Regions from separate parts of the Homo sapiens genome. Here region 1 is linked to region 2. Evidence: promoter capture Hi-C in human tissues and cell types (Jung and others, 2019). All regions are on one chromosome and are shown on one strand. Each heading gives the region's core, a stretch centred on a gene start or on the middle of the fragment in contact. The rest is flanking DNA. Distances are from core to core; before and after follow the strand shown.

The links. The method cuts DNA at HindIII sites, captures the fragments that hold promoters and counts their contacts. A contact is called where the count stands out against the background at its distance.
Region 1: a fragment that was not itself captured here is called in contact with the fragment with the promoter of SLC29A3 in region 2 in 2 of the 25 tissues and cell types used here (lymphoblastoid cells and spleen).

Annotation. Positions count from the first base shown.
Region 1 is chr10:71,875,726-71,879,151 of GRCh38, forward strand. LINC03139 (long intergenic non-protein coding RNA 3139) reads left to right here and starts at 2,362. Exons shown (of 2, transcript XR_007062186.1): 1 at 2,362-2,760; 2 at 2,988-3,382. RefSeq lists an enhancer at 272-1,152. The HindIII fragment of the contact is 7,970 bases long and covers 1-3,426 here.
Region 2 is chr10:71,317,531-71,321,327 of GRCh38, forward strand. SLC29A3 (solute carrier family 29 member 3) reads left to right here and starts at 1,729. Exons shown (of 6, transcript NM_018344.6): 1 at 1,729-1,780. The coding sequence starts at 1,780. LOC124902445 (a long non-coding RNA gene) reads right to left here and starts at 2,133. Exons shown (of 2, transcript XR_007062183.1): 1 at 2,032-2,133; 2 at 439-1,374. RefSeq lists a silencer at 1,526-1,975. The HindIII fragment of the contact is 13,989 bases long and covers 1-3,797 here.

The DNA of each region.
Region 1 (3,426 bases), core at 335-2,834, 560 kb after region 2:
GGCAGAGGCGCCCCTCACCTCCCGGACGGGGCGGCTGGCCAGGCGGGGGGCTGACCCCCCCACCTCCCTCCCAGACGGGGCGGCTGGCCGGGCGGGGGGCTGACCCCCCCACCTCCCTCCCAGACGGGGCGGCTGGCCGGGCGGGGGGCTGACCCCCCCACCTCCCTCCCGGACGAGGTGGCTGCCGGGCGGAGACGCTCCTCACTTCCCAGACGGGGTGGCTGCTGGGCGGAGGGGCTCCTCACTTCTCAGACGGGGCGGTTGCCAGGCAGAGGGTCTCCTCACTTCTCAGACGGGGCGGCCGGGCAGAGACGCTCCTCACATCCCAGACGGGGCGTCAGGGCAGAGGTGCTCCCCACATCTCAGACAATGGGCGGCCGGGCAGAGACGCTCCTCACTTCCCAGATGTGATGGCGGCCGGGAAGAGGCGCTCCTCACTTCCTAGATGGGATGGCGGCCAGGCAGAGACGCTCCTCACTTTCCAGACTGGGCAGCCAGGCAGAGGGGCTCCTCACATCCCCGACGATGGGCGGCCAGGCAGAGACGCTCCTCACTTCCCAGACGGGGTGGCGGCCGGGCAGAGGCTGCAATCTCGGCACTTTGGGAGGCCAAGGCAGGCGGCTGGGAGGTGGAGGTTGTAGCAAGCCGAGATCACGCCACTGCACTCCAGCCTGGGCACCGTTGAGCACTGAGTGAACGAGACTCCATCTGCAATCCCGGCACCTCGGGAGGCCGAGGCTGGCGGATCACTCGCGGTTAGGAGCTGGAGACCAGCCCGGCCAACACAGCGAAACCCTGTCTTCACCAAAAAAATACGAAAACCAGTCAGGCGTGGCGGCGCGCGCCTGCAATCGCAGGCACTCGGCAGGCTGAGGCAGGAGAATCAGGCAGGGAGGTTGCAGTGAGCCGAGATGGCAGCAGTACCATCCAGCTTCGGCTCGGCATCAGAGGGAGACTGTGGAAAGAAAGGGAGAGGGAGACCGTGGGGAGAGGGAGAGGGAGAGGGAGCGGGAGCGGGAGCGGAAAAAATATTTAAAGATGATATACAGTCTACAGCAAACCACCAAATGCATCATTTGCAAGTTTAGGCTAATGATAAAAATTTCAAAGGGGCCAGGCACATTTGCTCATGCCTGTAATCCCAGCACTTTGGGAGGCCAAGGAGGGCGGATCACCTGAGGTCAGGAGTTCGAGACCAGCCTGGCCAACATGGTGAAACCCCCGTCTCTACTGCAACTATAACGATTAGCCGGGTATGGTGGCAGGTGCCTGTAATCCCACTTACTCAGGAGGCTAAGGCAGGAGAATCGCTTGAACCTGGGAAGTGGAGGTTGCAGTGAGCCGAGGTCGTGCCATTGCACTCCAGCCTGGGTGACAGAGTGAGAGTCCATCTCAAAAAAAAAAAAAAAAAATTTGAAAGGGGTTTTTTAAAGGGTGCCTGTGGACAAAGTGTGATCACTGTTGTGTGGAAGTGATCCTTTACGATCCCAATCAGATCACACCATTTGCTGTTCACACATCTCCAGTGGCCTCTTTTGCCTTTGAGCATGCCCAGGTCGTTTCCCCCCAGTCTGGAGGCTCTTGCCCTTTGCTCCTGCTCCAGATATTCATTCTGCATCTGCTCCCTAGCAGCTTTCTCTCTGCCATCCTGCCATCTTTTCTTCTTGCCATGCTAGCATATGTTTATTTATGAGTGGCAGCTGTATCTCTAGTCACTAGGTCAGGACCTGGTATATTCTAGGCGCCCTGGAAGCATTCTCCAGAAACAGAGGTGCGGTGAGGAGAGTTTGGATCCAGTTTGGACTGCAGATAAATGTTTGTGAGGCTGGGCATGGTGGCTCACACCTGCAATCCCAGCGCTTTCAGAGGCCAAGGCGGGAGGACCGCCAGAGCCCAGGAGTGAGAGACCAGCCTGTGCAACATAGTGAGACCCCTGTCTAATTATTTTAAAAAAGGTTGTTTGTGAAATGACTGAGCAAGTAAATAATGAAGGAGTGAAGGAACTTGGACTGATGACCTGGAACACCTGTACCCTTCTCCCACTCCAAAAAACCCCTGCCCATCCTCACAATCCAGGGCCAGCATCACTCTTTTTTTCTGGAAGCTTCCTCAGTATCCTGGGTATGGGTCCCCTGTGATTCATGGAGGACCCCCAGTGGGGCTCCCAATGGCACGGCATTACCAGCACCTGCACCTGCTGCCTCCCCAGTCACCCCTGGCTCCCAGGGTTCCATTGCACAGTAGATCCTCTAGAAATGCTTCACAGACATTGATGTGGTGAGGGAGGAGGGACAGGGTAGCAGTCTCACCACCCATTACCCCCACCCCCGCCTCTCATTCAACGAACACTTTGAGCACCTGGCACTTTGATCCCCTCAGTGCCAGGCACTGAGCTCCAAATCCCAGACTCTGTAACGTGCAAGCAATCCTTACTCTTTCTATTTTAATATCTTAACCCATGTATTTATATACCTTGTCAAGTAAAATGTATTCTTTTTTAATGATTCTCAAAAGGATACTCATTGAAAAAATTTAGAAAACACCGAAAAATGCAAGGAAGAAAAATACAATTCTCTTACAATCCTGTATAATCCTGTGCCTCTAGGCCTACAGTCAGCTCCAAGCAACGGCACAGACACCTCCTCCTCCGGATGACCAGGATTGCCTCTGGGTTTGTCACAAGCTGGAACAGGGTCCTTTGGAGGATGGGGCTCTGTGAAGAAAAAGAGGTGAAGTGTTTGGATTCAGTCTGAGCCAAAGGTGAGCGTTATCAGTCCCCGAAAGGCCTCAGGGGTTGGCTGACTCTCTGAGAGGCCGGCAAGACTGGTGAAGTTCTGGAAGGGGACCTGGGGGGTGGGGCCCGGGGACCTGGGGGGTGGGGCCCGGGGACATGGGGGGTGGGGCCCGAGGCCCAGGCAGAGGCCAAACATTGCCCAGGGCCCGGCTTTAGTCTGCAACAACCCTCATTGTTCTCTCACTGTCTCTAGGCCGCTTTATCTGGGTTTAAGGACACAAGACTCCGTGAAAGACAAGCTAGTTCTTCTTCCTGCCCCGGCAGTCCACTGCAGGCCGATGCAGACGCAACCACTTCCTCAGCCGCTGTGGCTGAGAGCCCGCCACTGCACTCTATGGGCTTGGTGCTGGGTATGGAGAGGAGGGTATGACATAGCCCCTGCCCTCAGAGTTTTTTCCTACTCATTATCCCTGCTGTCTCTGGGGACTTCTTAAATGTCAGCAATCATTGTCATCTTCACTGTTGCCTCCGCAGCCACCGCACATGGCTGCACCTGGGCCATCTCCTCTGATGTAAAGGCTGTGCAGCCAAAATTTGCAATTCTTCCCCCAGCTTTTAAAATTGTAGTAAAATATATATAACATAAAATTTGCCAGCTTCACTGTTTGTTAAGTGTACAGTTCAGTGGTATG
Region 2 (3,797 bases), core at 479-2,978:
TCCCATTTCACTGGGTACTGGGGTGGGGGGGTGGAATCAAATGGGAGACTGTTCATGAAAATGCTCTGTATATTAGAGGATTTTTTTCCAACGTAAAGAGGCTAAAAATAAGGCCTGATGACTAAACTAACATATACACTATCACATTTTGGGGGTGGGGAGTGTCTTCCTTGGAAGTGATGGAAATTTGCATTGAGTGCCTGGCATGGATCACCTGACTTAATTCTCCCGACAGTCCTAAGCCGACCCTGGGTTTCAGAGAGGTTTAGTAATTTTACCATTATCCCTCAGCTTGTAAGCCTGGAGCTAAGCCCCTTCCTCTCCTGGGCCGGGGGGCTTTCTGACAATTTAGGGTGCTAGTCTCCAAACTCGCCTGCTGGTGGAGCTTGTTAAATAGATCCATTCTGGATCCCCATTCTGCACCCCCTGAGTGATGGGTTGTATTAATCCAGGTATTTATTGAACACAAATTATGTGCCCACGATGAGGGAAGAGCAAACAAAGCAGATACAGCACCACCCTCAGGGATTGGGGAGTGGCAGCAACCCTCCTGGGGAGAGGTCCCCAGAATCTGGATGTGTACTCGAGACTTTTATGATCAGGCCAGTGTTTGGGGAATGGTGGTTATAAAATGAGAGGCTGGGGCAGGGAGTGGGGATGTTCTGAGAACCTGTCCACACACTGACAGCCTCAATGGGTTCTGTGGCACCCCTGAGCCCTGGGATGGCAACTGCAAGAATTTACTATCCATGGTCACAGATCTTCAGGCCCTGTGAAGCATCCAGATCCCCGCTCTGAATAGGCCAACTGGGCCAGGACCGGGAGTCAGGAAGGTTTCCGCCTTTTTTTTTTTTTTTTTTTTTTTGAGATGGAGTCTTGCTCTGTCGCCCAGGCTCCAGGCTGGAGTGCAGTGGCACCATCTCGGTTCACTGAAATCTCCGCCTCCCGGGTTCAAGCGATTCTCCTGCCTCAGCCTCCCACATAGCTGGGATCACTGGCACGCACCACCATGCCCGGCTACTTTTGTATTTTCAGTAGAGACGAGGTTTCGCCATGTTGGCCAGGCTGGTCTCAAACTCCCGACCTCAGGTGATCCGCCTGCTTCGGCCTCCCAAAGTGCTGGGATTACAGGCGTGAGCCACCGCGCCCGGCCCCTGCTTTCTTAAAGAACACGCGGCAGCTGTGTGTTACACGCTATGGCTGAGGTCAAGTGTGAGGGCTGGAATTGCTGACTGCCATGTTCTGGGTCTACTGAAAATAGCTGCCTGGCCTGGGAGGCCCAGTTCAGTCCGGGTGTGGGTCCCGCTTCACCTCCAGAGCAGCGGCAGCCGGTAAGGGTAGAAGCGGCCTTTGGAGAGGGGTCTCTGCAGCGGCCTGGGGACAAGATGAGGGCTCCTTTGAGTCCTGGGGTGCAGGTTATAGTAGCTAAAGGGGAGGTCTGAGACAGTGGGGTCTGGCTCCAAGGTAAAGAAGGAGCAGCAACCAAAAGGCCTGATGCGCAGCGCACCCATCGCAAGCATGGGCAGTGCGTTTAAGACTGGGTGACTCACTTTTTCTCCTATAAAATGGGCGCACGCAGGCCCCAGCTCAGCGCCAGAAGGGGGAGCCCCGGCGCGCCGGCAGAAGACAAAGGAAAAAAGCGTGTTTGCAAACGGGGAAGCGGCGGCGTGCTGCCGCGAGGGGCGGGGCGGGGCCGGGGGAGGAGCCCGCCTGCCGCCTGCCAAGCCCAGTGGTCCTGGCCGTGCGCCGGAGGCAGCGGCGGCGTGGCGCAGCGGCGACAGTAAGTGCGGGCCGGCTCGGGCTCTTCCGGCTACGGTCCCGGCCGCCCCCAGACTCGCGCTCAGCGACCTCCCTCCCGGGCCCTGGGGGCGGCTGCGGGCTGCCAGGGGAGCCGCAGGACCCTACCCCATCCGTGGTCCCTTCCCCACCGTCCCTCCTCTCTCTCCTTGCTCTCTGCCACCCCTCTTTCTGGGTCTCTATCTTCTCTTCCCCAAATCCTCTCCCCTCCTCCTCCCTGAGACTGGACCTCACCGCCTGTATGGTGGGGGCCTGGTATGGACCCGTCGGCCCGAAGTATCCAGACGGTGGCTGATTCTCTCGGTCCCAGCTGCGGGGCCTGAGGCTGGGGCTGTTTACACCGCAAAGCCGGTTCTGCCGCGGCCAGTAGGCGGTGCCCTGCGCTTCCCAGTGCCTTCCCACAGGTTAGCCCTACCAGCTCCCCACCCCGGTTCACAGCCCAGGAGATCGAGGCACAGAGGGGCGAGCCACCTAGCCAGAGTCAGGAACCTCCTTGGAACCAGCACCCAGGCTTCCCAGCCCAGATGAGGTTTTGCCGCGGCCCCAGCAGTGCCTGCCTCCTTGTGTGGGGCTGTCTGTCTGTGCATGGCCGGGCTCCCGCAGGTGACCCAGGAGCACGTTCCAGGCCACAGCCAGCTTGTTTTGGGGAAGGTTGGGCACTTCCTTGCCTGCCTTTCTCTTTATTTTTTAATCCAGAAGCCAGCAGCTAGCTTTTATAAAGACTAATAAGACTTTGCTCACTCCAGTGCCCTGGCCTGTGACCCTGGTTAGAGAAAATTCCTGGCTCCTTCTTCAGAAGCTCAGTCAAGCCTTGACAAATAGACGCTAGGAACTGAGAAGGGGGCCCTAGCCAGGTGTGGTCCTGAGTGACAGGGCTGGTGGACCTTCTAGCCGCCCCCACAGGTAGCTGGAGCCTCTGGAAAGAACCACTTGCCGGTTCTCTCTTGTTCTATGTGGGTGGGTCATGATTATTTTTTACATTTTAAACACTAATTTTTAAAATGTAACAAGTGAGCTTGTTACATTTGTACCATTTTGTGCCAGACAAAATAGCATAGACTGGGTGGCTTAAACAAAATTTGTTTCTCATGGATCTGGAGGCTGGGAAGGGCAAGATCAAGGTGCTGGTTGATTTGGTTTCTGATGAGGGCTCTCTTCCTGGCTTGCAGACAGCCTCCTTCTTGCTGTGCCTTCACATGGCTTTTCCTCTATGAGTGGGTGCATGTGGAAAAAGCGATTTTCCACACAGTGAGCTTCCAGACAGTGAGCTTGTTAATGCTGGCCTCCATGCGAATCCAGGCTGGGGAGGGGCTCTGCTAACCAGGGGAGTTTAAAATAGACTTGCTGGCTGGATGCATTGCACTTGGGCATCCAGTGGCCCCCCACCTGCTGGCTCCAGGGTACATGCTACCCCAGCAGGGGAGAATGTCCTGGTCGTGCAGAGTCCGTTCATTCAGCAAACATTGACAAGGGTGCCTGCAGTGTGCCTGGGCCCCTCCCGACTCACTGGCTTCAAGGCTTGCAGGAAGGATGCCTGTACTTGGAACCAGCAGACACAGATTCCCATTCCCAGCCAGTCCTCCCCGGTGTGCTGAGGAGTCCAGCATGGGCCCCAGTCTGCTTGGCTGTGTAACTTCACTCTTGTCATCTACTAGTTATGTGACCCTGGGCAAGTTACTCAACCTTTCTGAGCCTCAGACCCCTCTGTGAAATGGGTCTTAGAGTAGTACCTAATATATTAGGCTGTTGTCAGCCTCAAGTGTGACCTCTGTTAGGCACAGACCTTGGCATTTGTGATCACTGGACTTAAGTTTAGCTATTGGGAGTTCTTTCTATTTGTGGGACATAGCAAGTGCCTTCCAGACCTCAGTTTTTCCATCTGAAAAAAGGGGGCAATGTTTTCTGCCCTGCCTAATTCCAAGGGATGCTCTGAGGTTCTCCTGAAATAGTGGATAAGGTTCTGCACCCATGTGAGGAGGTGTTCCCATCCCACCAGGGAA